Linked DNA regions of Homo sapiens: region 2 is linked to region 1. The links are contacts of gene promoters, found by promoter capture Hi-C in blood cells and fetal thymus (Javierre and others, 2016). All regions are on one chromosome and are shown on one strand. Each heading gives the region's core, a stretch centred on a gene start or on the middle of the fragment in contact. The rest is flanking DNA. Distances are from core to core; before and after follow the strand shown. Region 1 holds the start of MAP7D2 (MAP7 domain containing 2). Region 2 overlaps MAP3K15 (mitogen-activated protein kinase kinase kinase 15).

The links. Contacts are between HindIII fragments. The CHiCAGO score rates a contact against its expected background, and 5 or more counts as called.
Region 2: a contact is called between a fragment that was not itself captured here and the fragment with the promoter of MAP7D2 in region 1, in 1 of 17 cell types (neutrophils). The highest score is 6.6, in neutrophils.

The regions. Positions count from the first base shown.
Region 1 is chrX:20,112,543-20,120,048 of GRCh38, forward strand. It overlaps MAP7D2 (MAP7 domain containing 2), which reads right to left and starts at 4,365. Exons shown (of 17, transcript NM_001168465.2): 1 at 4,208-4,365. The coding sequence starts at 4,337. The HindIII fragment of the contact is 4,441 bases long and covers 2,246-6,686 here.
Region 2 is chrX:19,399,040-19,406,545 of GRCh38, forward strand. MAP3K15 (mitogen-activated protein kinase kinase kinase 15) reads right to left here. Exons shown (of 29, transcript NM_001001671.4): 14 at 1,537-1,624. Among named protein-coding and RNA genes, the nearest start is that of PDHA1, 59 kb to the left of the region's middle. The HindIII fragment of the contact is 3,276 bases long and covers 2,645-5,920 here.

The DNA of each region.
Region 1 (7,506 bases), core at 3,115-5,614:
AAGACGGTAAACTCCATATTTAAATGCGGCCGACTCAGATGTGAGGTGGACAGTGGACACTCCCTCCCTAAGGGCGGCTGCCCTCTACTACCCCCTCTTCCTTCTTCTGGTGAAATTCCTTTCAAAAGGGACCGGAGGGCAGGGCCATGGGAAGTTTTCAAATCTTGGAACTGCCGCCTGAGCCAACTTAGCACATGAACAGCCCCCTAAAACCAGGCAGTATCATTGTATCACCAGCCAATATATCTCATCAAATCCTCTCAACAAGACCCACCAGGATATTTACCAACAGCCCCCAGAAATCTCCATCTCTCGCCTGCCCAAATCAACCTTGTGAATCCTTCTGTTTTGTAAGGCAATCAATGTAATTACAAGAAGACAAAGTGTTCTTTTAAAACACTAGCCACTGCAGAAGATGGGGCACCTGAGAGGAAAACATCCTTTCATGTTGGAGAGGAAGCAGGTTAGAAATGACAGACTTTGAGCAGCTATGTCACCATGGCTAGGATATGAGAAGAGAAATCACAAAGACTTTCAGCAGTTTGTCCTGAAGGTCCTGCTAAGTCTAAGTCCTATGCTGCCATCAGTAAAAAAAGCCAGGAGCCACAAACCAAATACAACTTTGTAGGAAGTTTGTGGTCCTTCCTACTACCAAAGAGACTCTAGAGGCACAAACTCAACTTGTTCTCTTGTTCTTCTTGATCTGAACACTTTTTTTTTTAAGATCGGAGTCTCACTCTGTCGCCCGGGGTGGAGTGCAGTGGCTCAATCTCTGCTCACTGCAACCTCCGCCTCCCGGGTTCAAGCAATTCCCTGCCTCAGCCTCCCGAGTAGCTGGGATTACAGGTGCCTGCCACCATACCTGGCTAATTTTTGTATTTTTAGTAGAGACAGGGTTTCACCATCTTGGCCGGCCTGGTCTTGAACTCCTGACCTCGTGATCCGCCCGCCTCGGCCTCCCAAAGTGCTGGGATTACAGGCGTGAGCCACCACGCCCAGCGATCTGAACAGTTTTAGGATTAAAGCGTTCAAGAATGGTTTTAAACACAACTTTGAAAAAGGATGAAGAACTCCGATTTCTTGGGGACCCAATGCCTTTGCTACTCGGGCCCACTCTACTTTTTTTTTTATTTTACAATTTTTAATTTTTGTGGCTACATAGTAGGTAGTAGGTGCATATATTTCTGGGGTACATGAGATGTTTTGGTACAGGCATGCAATATGAAATAATCATATCATGCAAAACAGGTTAGCCATCCCCCTCAAGCATTTATCCTTTGTGTTACAAACAATCCAGTCATACTAGTAGTTATTTTTAAATGAACAATTAAATTATTATTGACTATAATTACCCTGTTGTGCTATCAAATACCAGGCCTTATTAATTCATTCTATTTTTTTATACCCATTAACCATTCCTACCTCCTTCCCACCCCCCAGTACCCTTCGCAGTCTCCAATAACCACCTACTCTCTATCTCCAGGCCCCACCCTATTTTGTTTTTCTTTCGAGACGGAGTCTCGCTCTGTCACCCAGGCTGGAGTACAGTGGCGCGAGGTCAGCTCACTGCAACCTCCGCTTCCTGGGTTCAAGCGATCCTATGCCTCAGCCTCCCAAGTAGCTACGATTACAAGCATGCGCCACCAGGCCCGGCTAATGTTCGTATTTTTAGTAGAGATAGGGTTTCACCATGTTAGCCAGACTGGTCTCAAACTCCTGACCTCAAGTGATCCACCTGCCTCGGCCTCCCAAAGTGCTGGGATCCTGGGCATGGTGGCGCAGAAGTTGCAGTGAGCTAAGATTGTGCCACTGCACTCCAGCATGGACAACAGAGTGAGACTTCATCTAAAAAGAAAGAAAGGAAATATGGTTGAGATCTGGTGATTCTATCTGCTGGTTAAAGGTTGTTAAGCAGATTGAAACAAGCACTTGCTCATTTGTTATACTATGTGTATCAGACAAGCACTAAAATGGACAGTAGATCTGGTAATTTCTATTCAGAGGTAATTAAAAGGAAAGAAAGAAGGCATCACTAGGGGGTAATGGGAACATGCACAGGATTTCAATATCGGAAGAACCTGTTGCTAGAGGAAACCACCAGCGGTATTTCCTTTCCGTCTTTTACACAGCTCCCAGGAAAACCACTTGCCAACTCATATCCCCTAAGTGTGCAACACAAAATTGTTGGACAGCCTAAACATCTCAGGTCTTTCTGTATTTTGCAGCCTTGACAGCACCCAGCCCAAGCTTAGGAACAATGGTTGACTCTCTAGAAAAGCAGGTTAAGTCTCATTAGGAATGGGTCCCAAATGCTAAGGGCCTGGGTAACCAAGAATGATCAGTATCCAGGACAGATAATTATAAAACCTCAAAATCATAATTTTTCTAAGGAGACTTTACTTAAGTACCTGGCCTTGCTAACTCCCCCAAACAACAAATGGTGGTATCACCTGGCACCTAAATTAAACATTCCAATTTTACCATACCAACCTTAATGCACATAGGTGCTTATTTCACATTTTAAACCTTCACACATATTTTTCTATATTTCCAATTTCAAATGAAGGAAGATATCCTTAAGCTAATCTTAATATCAGAAGAGTGCATTAAATGATTCTACAATAGTTTCCAAACAGAACTTATTAAGAATCTCCCCCGCAAAAGTACCTCCTCCCCTTCCCCAATTTTGTTTCCATTAAAAAAAAAAAAAAAAAAACCCCTTAAGTTCCTTCAAATAAAATCCAAGATACACTGAAAACCCAATCATACCGCCCCTCCCCACCTCTCATGAGTACAACAGAACATCGAAACAAACTATTATTTAAGCTCTCAACCAAATAAAAATGCAAACTGAAACAACCTCTCCTTTTCAGTGTTTTATTATACAAGGTCGCCTCTGCCACGGAGGGTCGTTCTGGTGGGTAGTTTCCAGGTTCTTCCCTAGCAGATGCAGCTTGAGTGTTTCAAGCAAAAAGGATAAAAACAAAAGCACACATTTCAAAGGTAGTTATAACGTTATCCTGTGACAGTTAATGAATTCTGCCTTTAAAATAGCATAATGAAAAATACAAACTGGAAATGATTTAAGCTATCTCCTCCTCCTAAGAATGATGCAACTGAAGGCCCAGTCAGAAAATACTACCTCGCCCCCTCAACCCCAGTGAAAAAGCGTGTTTTAAGAAGATTTCTCTTGATTTCTTTCCTTTTCTTGGCCCATCGTATATAAAATACTCCCATCTTCACTATGTGATAATTCATCGAATTATAGTTTTGTGTGGTTTTTTAAATGCATATTAGACTGCAATAAAAAATGTTTTAAAAATAGCCTGCCTTATTAACTAAAAATAAAAAAGTTGTTGTCAGGAAAAACAGCATGAAATCGGTTTCCATGCTGCTTACACCCCCGCACTACCTGCAACCACTTTACAGAACGTTAGCATCAGACCTGCTTATCTAAAATCCTGCCAAATGTCCTCACAGTCTCCTCCGCTGCCTCGCTGGCTTCTGGGCAGCCAGGGACCAGCCCTCCATGGCTCCCAGCATCGGCAGCCTCGAGGGCTGAGAGCCTTGTTTGCCCCGCTGCCTCGATTGAGGGCCGCGGCCCGGCCACCTGAGCAGCGTTCCCAAGACAGGGAGCGCATCCGGGCGGGAGGAGCACCCGGTCCGGGGCAGACGCCTGGCCGCCCGGGCGAATCTGCCTCTGCCAATGGGTGACACGCCGATTTTGCCCCCTGGAAACGCCAAGAGGCGCGAAGCTGGGCCACCTTCGCCGCGGGCTGCAGCGGCGCTCGCGCGCGTTTCCCAGAACGCAGAGAGAGCGCGCGCGGAGGCCGGGGCAACCCCAGAACCCCGCTCGGTTTATCCTAACGACCCCCATGCCGGCTGCTCCTCGAGGACGGGGACTGGACCCGCAGCACCCCCTCAGGCACCTCCATCCCAAACACACCTGCCGCCCACCCTAAGCCACCCCCCATGTGTACCCACTCACCCAGGTCGCCCCAAGAAAGAACCCCGCCACTCGCACAGAGAGGGGTGCGGCCCTTGGATGCACGTCCGGACGATCCTGGGCCAGGGAAAGGGCGTTTATCTCAGCTCTGCGCCGTGCCCCTTCCCCCCACGCTCGAGGACCTTTGCCCTGGGCCGCCGGGCCCGCCCCCCCACAGGAACCCGAAGCCCTCGGGCGCCCGCCACACTCTGGGGATAATACCTTGAGGCCGGTAGTTGGGCTGAGAGGTCCGCACCGCGCCCGGTTCTGCGATCTTCCCTGGGAGAGAGGTTCCCCGCGCAGTCCCCTCAGGCCGGGATCCCGTCCCGGAGCCGCCGCCGCCGCGCTCCATCGGGATGCGCCGGCCGCACAGGCGCACTGCCAAGCCCGCCGCGCCGCACCGAACCCGCGCGCGTCCGCATGCGCACGCGTCCTCACGCAGCACGCGCGCAGGGCGTGCACGTGCGATAAGCGCACCGGTTACCACGCACAGCGCACGCAAGGCGTGCACGTGCGATAGGCGCACCGCTTCCACGCACAGCGCACGCAGGGCGTGCACGTGCGATAGGCGCACCGGTTCTCACGCGGCGCGCGCTTGTAGCGTGTGCATGCAATGTGCACAACAGTCCTCACACAGCGCGTACGGGCGTGCACGCGTCCTTACACGCTGCTGTACACAGTGCACACACAGAAGGCGTGCGTACGCACACAGTTCTTCATACGATGCTTACATGCAACATGCACACACAACGTGCACACCCAGCGTAAATGCATCTTCTCACAGTAGCAGATACACACTCAAAGCGTGTGTAGATGTAGGGTGCAGTTTCTCAGACACCGTGCACACACATCCTCACTCAATGTGTGAACACAGAGCACATAACGCGCACACACGTGCTCACTCAGCACGCACACGCTTACACTCACTGGGTGTCTGCATGCAAACTCAGCAATGCAGCCTTGGGAACAATTTCTGGCTAGGCCCCCAGGTGGGTGCCAGTTGGGCCAGTGACATCTGTGCAGACGCCAGAGGACCCGCCCTCCATGCATAGTTAGGTTCCAGTTTTCGAGGCGCACGGGTAATCAGTGTTTAGTGACGCCCCACCCTCAGCGTGCGGTCACCCAGAGAGGGACAGCAGCAAGCTATTGGGGTCGATCTTCAACTAAGAGGCAGCGGCACGCGCCGTAGGCCGACCTAGGCCTTTCAACGACACCCTACTCCGCAGCCAATTTGGTTCCTCTTCTCCTGAGGCGTAAATAATGCTGACTGAAACCTCCGCGATGCCGGGTGTGGTGGCTCCCGCCTGTAATCCCAACACTTCGGGAGGCTGACGCGGGCGGATTGATTGAGCTAAGGAGTTCGAGACCCCCGTCTCTACAAAAAAATTTTAAAAATTAGCTGGGCATGGCGACTCATCTGTGGTCCCAGCTACTTGGGAGGCTGAGGCGGGAAGATCGCTTGAGCCCGGGAGGTCGAGACTGCAGTGATCACGCCACTGCACTCCAGCCTGGGCGACAGAGACCTTGTCTCAAAAGCAAAATAAAACAAAAAACCTCTGAGGAGGATCTCTCCGAGAAGACACACAAGAAACTGCTAAACGGGTTGCCTCCTAAGTAGGCACTTTTACCACTGCCATGCACATTTATTATCTTTTCAAAAACATTGAAAAAGACATCTTGGCAGGGCCGGCTCAAGCCTTTTGTTTACCCAGGCCTGCCAAGTGATAACCCGTTCCCATGGAGCCCCAGGCTGCATGTTTTTTCTCGTTGGAAGGTGACCAGCCTGAAAGTTTTATTACCACTCCTGGGGGGAGATATACACGATTAAAAATGAAGCTGAATAATGGGTACAGGTTTTCTTTTTTGGATGAAAATATTCTAGGATTATGATGAGTGCACAACTAAGTATACTAAAAACTATTGAATTGTACATTTTAAGCGGGTGAATTTTATGGTCCCTTAATTATGTCTCATTTTTTTTTTTTTAATGTGAAGCTGAAACTCTCAGGAATGGGCACCTGTACTCTTGGCCAAAGCTGGGAAAGTCCCTTTGTGGCACAAAAAATGTTTGTGATGAACGTGTTCCTGACACGCCCAAAGGTGTGCCGGGAGTAGGGTTCAAGTGTGGTGAGAAAGCCAGGAAGTTTAAACATAAATGAGTAGGAAAGTGAGCAGGTGGGGGCTGGTACCCTGAGCTGTAATGAAAACTCGAACACATTGAGATTAAGCCAAATTAAGAGCGTGGGAGCTGTCACTTTCTCCTCCCTTATCTTAGGGACCTTTGGTGAGTTCAATTCATCCAACTCTTGAGCTCATGGACATGTGTGTGTAGCATCCCTCTCTACTTTTATTCTATTTTTGGGGTCCTTTTACTTTCCATTCCTCTCCCTAATTATAAACACCTCCTCTGATATCTTTGCAGCTGCAATTTTGAAATACTGTTTTGAAGATACGCATGTATTTTAATTGTATATAAATGACACTGCATAAAAGCTATCATTCTATTTGTTTTTCCTCTCTTGGCATTGTTCTCAATCTACACAAAATGATTAGCCATTCTATCTGGTTTACCCTTCTGTAAATTCCCTGTTCAATCCTTGCCCACCTTTCCACTGGGCTACTCTGGTTGATTTCCAGGAGTTTCTTGTATTCTAGATAATTTCTGGTTTAAATGTTGCAAATATTTTATCCTAGCCAACTAAGCTTTTTAAGATTGGTAAAATTTTCCTTAATTTTTATGACAAAATCCTATTAACATGTTTACTCCATTTACAATATTGCCCTATTTTTTATCAACTGTTTTTGAAAGTTACATTACAAATACTTCCATGTGTATTTCCTAAGATTATGAATGTTCTGTTACACATACTAGAGTTGACTACCAACTTAAGTTTCACATGGATACAGTAATTTTCTCTCCATTGGCTGTTCCTCCACCTTAGAGGTAGTTTTCCTCTTGCAAAATGCACTGTGGTGAGGCACCTTAAGGCTATGCAGGTACTTACTCTTCGTCAAAAATTCTCTCTAGATTTAGCATCCATTGATGGTTCTTGCTTGATCTGATCTCATAATGATTACGAAGTGATAAAATCCATAAATTTTTCACCTTATGGTTTGCATTTTAAGAAGTCTTAATACGAACTTCCCTAGTCCCAAGATACTCCCCATTGCCCTCATGCTTATAGTAAAAAACGTAAAAAAAAAAAAAAAAAAAAAAAAAAGTAAAAAATGCTTTACTCTTAAGCAATTTTTCTGTATAGGGTGAGGTAAAGAGCCAAATCCACTTTTCTCTCCGAAGTGTAGTTTGGTCAGCACTACCTGCTTACCTATCCTTTCCCCAGTAATTTTTGAAGCCACTTTTTAAAAAATCAAGTACCTAATTTCCATAGTAGGTGAGATAGCTTCTGAGCTATCTATTCTGATCTTCCTGTTACTGCATCTATTATTCACTACTATGGCTTAGGGTGCAATTTATTTGTTGAATTCCCTCTTAGCAGTGTTTCTAGAATTCTTTGAAATTC
Region 2 (7,506 bases), core at 3,033-5,532, 710 kb before region 1:
GCTCCACTGCTTCTACTTACAGAAGTGCAGCTTATACACGGAATAGTCGGCGGGTATGTGGGTGTCCTTTCCCATCTACTTCTAGGGATGTTCATGACAATTAAGATTACTAAAGGGTTGGCTGGACACTGTGGCTCATGCTTGTAATCCTAGCACTTTGGGAGGCCCAGGCAGGAGGACCACCTGAGACCAGCATGGCCAACATAGCGAAACCCCATCTCTACTAAAAATACAAAAATTAGGCCAGGCGTGGTGGCTCATGCCTGTAATCCCAGCACTTTGGGAGGCCGAGGCGAGTAGACCACCTGAGGTCAGGAATTCGAGACCAGCCTGGCCAACATGGTGAAATCCCGTTTCTACTAAAAATACAAAAAATTAGCCAGGCGTGGTGGCACGTGCCTGTGGTCCCAGCTACTCAGGATGCTGAGGCAGGAGAATCGCTTAAACCTGGTAGGTGGAGGTTGCAGTGAGCCAAGATCACGCCACTGCACTCCAGCCTGGGTAACAGAGGAAGACTCCATCTCTAAATAAATAAAATACAAAAATTAGCCAGGCGTGGTGGCGGGTGCCTGTAGTCCCAGCTACATGGGAGGCTGAGGCAGGAGAATCGCTTGAACCCAGGAGGCAGAGGTTGCAGTAAGGCGAGATTGCGCCACTGCACTCCACTCCAGCCTCAGCAACAGCGTGAGACTCTGTTTCCAAAAAAAAAAAAAAAAAAAAAAAAAAACATGGTTAGTAAAGGATCTCCATCAGTGTCTGATGTAACTGGCAATCAGCCTGCTCCATAGAAGACTTTTACCTCACACCTCCCTCCGATTCCCACACCTGCTGCCCTCAAAGCACCATTGCTCAGTTCATTTCTACAACAAACTCTGGTCCTGACCTAAGAATTCTAGTAGTTAACTCAATTATTAAAATGAATCCCTTTGATATTTTCTGAAAGAAACATTAAGGAATTCCTTTCAGTCTAACCTGAAAGTACAGTAAAATCTCATTAAATTGTAATCACTGGAAGAACCTGAGTGAGTGGCAAATCTGAATAACTGGGCAAGATTTAAACACCTGTACAATGGTTTAGCAACTGTGGACTATAACTGTGCTGTTAAAAAGAGCTGATGAGCCTACTTTTTAAAATGATTTTAAAGTTGTTATATTTCATATAGTATATGCACATAGCTATAACTAAAGTCATTTTAAGCATAAAACGTCTGCTCTCAGTTGGCCAACTAATTCTCTTGTAGTCTCACAGACATTACTAATTAGCCTAGAGAAAACTTTCATAGGTTGTTCACAAAAGGAAATTTTAGTCTAGTCCATGGCCAAATTTTTCTTAAGCATTCTAACTGAGAGAATCCCAAAGAAATGAGATTCTTCTCTGGAGACACATTCAACATTATCTCTGGGAACCATGCAGTGATGGCTGGCAGGTTCATAAAACATACTCAACAGAGGATTTTTATAGAAAGATGGGACATTTTCTTGAAGCATCGAACACACAATCAATGTTTTCCATATTCTAGATCGTCCATGACTCACCTCCAAGGTGTCTCCATCGGTCTCTCCCTCCAGCTCCACCGTACTGCCTGCTGTATTGGTTATCATCTCTTTGACCAAAGAGAAAAATCTAGAACAGCAAGTGTCACAAATACGTTGCCAACTCAGAACTGCTCTCATTCCTTGTTTTTAACTTAGCTTTATTAAACTGTACTTAAATATAAACCAAACTTTTACAAGTCATGGAACAATCGATCCCCTCCTTGATTTGACGTGGTACTTTAGTGGTTATCAAATCTAGGGCAACTACCAATGTGATACCTGAATCCCCTCTGTATAGTATCTCCACCAACTGGTTGACCAATTGATGCTTGAGTACCTCCAGCAACAGAGAACTCATTACCTCCCAAAGACAGCTCATTCTTGGAAGATCTTAATGAGAAATATTTCCCTTTTACTGAACCAAAGACTTCTTTCATGTGGGTTCCATCCACAGTTTGCTTAGAATTAACCATTTTTCTACTTAACACCCCATTAGAAGTGCACATAATTTTACCATGTCCCTATAAGTCTTTCCTTTCTGTCCCATCACTGTTTTCCCCAGGACGTGTGAGTTACTCTACTAGCAGGTAATTCTTCAGATGACGTCCCTGTGTTACTCTTTTTCTTTTTTTTTTTAAAGACAGGGTCTCGCTCTGTCGCCCAGGCTGGAGTGCAGTGATGTGATCACAGCTCAATGCAGCCTCAGCCAGCCTCCTGAGCTCAAGCAATCCTCCCACCTCAGCCTCTCAAGCAGCTGAGACTACAGGCACCCATCACCAAGCCCGGCTAATTTTTGTATTTTTTGTAGACGGGGTCTCACTATGTTGCCCAGCTTGGTCTCAAACTCCTGGACTCAAATGATTCTCCCACCACGGCCTCCGAAAGTGTTGGGAGGCATGAGCCCCCGCACCCAGCCTCTTGTATTATTCTTGAAGTCTGGCCCCAAGACCAGTGTTCAGAGGGGATCTAATCAATGCTAAGGATAGGGGGACTATTGCCTCTCAAAGTACAGACAATCTAGTTCTCAGTAAGATACAGGGTGTTGTATAAGGGGAATGGTGAGGAGGAAACGCATAAGGTGGCCACATCATTCTGCTGACACAGAACAAGCTTAATATTGACCCATAAATCTTTCTCACAAATTCTACTGGGCCACGTGGGCCACTTCCTAGACTTGTGCAGTTTTTATTTGGATACAAGTCATCTTGACTCATTAGAACATTTTTACTCACAATTCTCTCTTAAGATGTCAAGGAGGAATACTGTACATTTCAGGATAATTTCCATAAACCATTAAAATGCTCTTTTTTCTAACTAACCCATCTTACCTTTTCTTCTAATCTTTGAAAGCTGGATAACCCAATCGTCAGGCTTCTTAAGAGACATATGGTATGCACTCACAGAACAACTAAGATTTAAAAGACGGTATCAGCCAGGTGTAGTGGCTCATGCCTGTAATCTTAGCACTTTGGGAGACTGAAGCGGGAAGACTGCTTGAGGCCAGGAGTTCGAGACCAACCTGGGCAACGTGGCCGAAACCCCGTTTCTACAATTTTTTTTTTTTTTTAAATTAGCCAGGTGTGGTGGCACACACCTGTAGTCCCAGCTACTCAGGAGACTGAGGTAGGAAGATTGCTTGAGACCGGGAGGCAGAGGTTGCAGTGAGCCAAGACTGCGCCACTGCACTCCAGCTGGGCAAAAGAGCAAGACTCTGTCTCAACAGAAAAAAAATAAAAGATGATATCAACTGTTCTTAAGAATACGGAACAACTGGGACTCTCATACATTGCTAGTGGGAGTGTAAATTGACATGACCACTTTGGAAAACTCTTGGCAGTATCAACAACCAAAGCTGAAGATAAACCTACCCTATAATCCAGTAATCCACTCCTAGATATATACTCAATAGAAATCAATATATATGTTCACCAAAAGGCATATATAAGAATGTTCATAGTCATTTTCTTCATAATAACCCCCAAACAGAAACAATCCAAGTCTTCATTAATAGAAGAACAGATAAATTGGAACACAACGGAATGCTACACAGAGAAAGAATGAACTGATATATACTTCACAGTTGGATTTCATTTTGTTTCTTGTTTTTGAGATGGGGTATCACTCTGTCACCTAGCCTGGAGTGCAGTGGCGTGATCATGGTTCACTGCAGTCTCGACCTCACAGGCTCAAGCAATCCTCCCACCTCATCCTCCCAAGTAGCTGGGACTGGAGGCGCACACCACCACGCCCAGCTAATTTTTTTATTTTTTGTAGAGACGAGGGTCTCCCTGTGTTGCCCAGGCTGGTCTTGAACTCCTGGGATCAACCGATCCTCCTGCCTTGGCCTCCCAAAGTGCTGGGATTACAGGTGTGGGCCACCGTGCCCAGCTATGAATATTATTTTAAGGGAAAGAGGTGAGAAACAAGGGTACAAACTACATGATTCTGTTTATTTGTAGGTCAAGAACAGGTGAAACTAACCATTGGTGGTAAAAATCAAAACAGTTATCACTGGAGGGAGTTTAATGACTGTGAAGGGGCACAAAGCAACTTCTGGGGTGCTGATCTGGGAGGCAGGTACAAGAATGTATATATGTATCAAAATTTATCAAGCTGTACACTTAAGTGCACATTACAAACTTGTTTATACGTTACACATCAATAAAAAAATTATTAAAATGTATTTTTAAAAAAAGGCACTGAGTACTGAATGAGGGTCAAAAGGGCACATTTTGTAGTAGTAAAAGGATGTTCTGCTTAATATTAGGTTTTTAATGGCAAAAACTGCAATTACTTTTACACCAATTTATATTTGGCAGCATTTTTTCTACTGTAAATTGAAGGTTATGATCCAATGATTCCCTAGTCTGCTATTTATTCTATTCTTTTTTTTTTTTTTTTTTGACAGGATCTTGCTCTGTCGCCCAGGCTGGAGTGCAGTGGCATGATCACCACTCACCACAGCCTCAACCTCCCAGGCTCAGGTGATCCTCCCACTTCTGCCTCCTGAGTAGCTGGGACTACAGGTGTATGTCACCATGCTGAGCTAATTTTTTTTTTTTTTGTACTTTTTGCAGAGACGGGGTTTTACCATGTCGCCCAGGCTGGTCTCGAACTGCCCACTCAAGCAATCCTCCTTCCTCAGCCTCCCAAAGTGCTAGGATTACAGGCATCAGCCACCACACCCAGCCTAGCCTAATCTTTAAATATGTTGTGACAATGATTGTCTGAGACACAATGAATTAAGACTTTCTCAAATTACATGATACAAATGAACTATGAATAAAGGGAACTTCCTCAATCTGATAAAGGTTATCTATGAAAAATCTGCTGCTAACATCATACTTAATGATGAAAGACTAACTTCTTTCTTCTTAAAAACAGGAACAAAATAAAGATGTCTACTCTCCCTATTTCTATTCCACATTGTGCTGGAGAGTCTAGCTAGGATAATTAGGCAAGGAAAATAAAGGCATCTAGGTTGGAAAGGAAAAACTAAAACTGTATCTGCAGATGACATGATATTGCACATAGAAAACCCTAAGGAATTCAATAAAACCCATTAGAGCTAATACATGAGTTCAGCAAGGTTGTAAGTTACAAAATCAACATTTACAACTCAAGTGTATTTCTAATACATTATCAGTGAACATCCAAAAGTGAAATTAAAAAAACTCCAGTATCAAAATAATAAAATCCTTAGGTATGTACTTAATAAAAGAAGTACAAAATTTGTACACTGAAACTACAAAACTATCATTGAAAGAAATTCAAGAAAACCTAAGTAAATAGAAATCCATCTTGTGTTCATGGATTGGAAGCCAGGATGGTTAATATGGCAATGCTCTCCAAATTGATCTAGATATCCAACGTATTCCCTGTCAAAGTCCTAGCTGCCATTTTTCTACAGAAATTGATAAGCTGATCCTAATATTTACGTGGAAATGCAAGCATCCACAATAACCAAAACAATCTTGAAAAACAAGAACGAAGTTGGAGGGCTCACATTTCCTGATTTTACAACTTACTACAAAGCTACAGTAATAGAGAAAGCATGGTGCTTGCATTAAGAATAGACATACAAAACAATGGAACGGAATTGAGAGTCCAGAAATAAACTCCTACATTTGTGGTCAACTGATTTCCAAAAAGAGTACCAAGACCACTCAATCAGGGAAAGAATAGTCTTTTCAAGAATAGTCTTTTCAACAAATGGTGCTAGGACAACCACATATCCACGTTAAAGAATAAAGTTGGAACCCCTACCTTACACCACATCCAAAAATGAATTCAAAATGGGTCAAAAACCTAAACATATAAAAGTTAAAACTATAAAACTCTTGGAAGAAAACATAAAAACCATAGAACACCTCAGGCTAGACAAAGCTTCTAAGACAAGAGCCAAAGGCACAAATGACAAAAGAAATAAATAGGTAAGTTGTACTTCATCCAAATTAAAAACTTTCGTGCTGCAAGTGATACCATCGAGAGAGTGAAAAGACAACCTACAGGATGGGAAAAAGCATTTGCAAATCATATCTGATAAAGAACTTACATAGAGAAAAAATATATCACATATATATGTATATATCACTCTTAAAATCAATAATAAAATGATAAATAACCCAATTATAAGTGGGCAAAGTTTGGAGATAGCTGGCAAACACCACTTTCACCAGATGATCCACGTTAACATCACCAATGATGACACAGAAATATTGTGTCCCTTGTTATGAGGCACTGAGAAGGACACAACATCATTTCTGTGATATTCCTGCCAAATACATAACATCAGTGTACTCATGAGGAAACGATAAACAAATCCAAGTCAAAGGACTACCCAAAATAAACTGTCTGTACTCTTGGAAAGTATTAAGTCAAAAAAGACAAAGACTGATGATGAACTCTTTCAGGTGAAAGGAGACTATGCAGACGTGACAACTCAATGCAACATGTGATCCTGGATTGGAACGTGGACCAGAGGAAAAACCTTTTGTTTTGCTATAAAAGACATCATTGGGACACTAAGTAAAATTTGGATAAATGTTGTAGATTATAGTACTATATCTATCTTAATTTCCTCATTAGATAACTGTACTGTAATTACACAAGTCAGTATCCTTGTTTTTACGAAATACACTCAAGTATTTACAGGTAATGGAGCATTGTCTACAACTTACTTTTAAACAGTTCAGAAAAAATAACCATATGCATAGAGCGAGAATGTAAAACCAATGTGGTAAGGGGTAAACCCTGAGAAATTCTGTGTGAAACGTATATGGAAATTCTTTGTATTGTATTTTGAAACTTTCCTATGGCTGTAAATATTTTCAAAAATAAAAAGTTTAATTTTTTTAATTGGACTAAGAATTTGAATAGACATTTCTCCAGAGGTATATAAATGGCCAATAAGCACATGAAATGATGCTCAGTATCATTAGTCGTCAGGAAAATGCGAATCAAAACCACAATGAGATCCCACCTCACATCCACTAGGATTACAATACTCAAAAGACAGATAATAACTAGTGTTGGCAAGGACGTGGAGAAATTGGAAGCCACATACATTGCTAATGGGAATATAAAATGGGAAAATGGTCTGGCAGTTCCTCAAAAGGTTAAACGTAGAGTTACCATAAGACCCAGCAATTTGACTCCAAGAGAAATAAAAACATGTCCTCACAAATACTTGCACGTGAATGTTCAGGGAAGTACAATTCATAATTGTCAAAAAGTGCAAACAATCCAAATGCCTATTGGCTGAAAAACAGATAAACTGTGGTATAGCCATACAAAAGAATATCATTCAGCCACAAAAAGAAATGAAGTACTGATACGTGTTACACATGGATAAACCTTAAAAAAATTACGCTAAGTGAAAGAAGCCAGTCACAAGAGACCACATACTGTATGATTCCACTTATATGAAATGGCCAGAATAGGCAGAGCCATAGAGACACAAAGATTAAT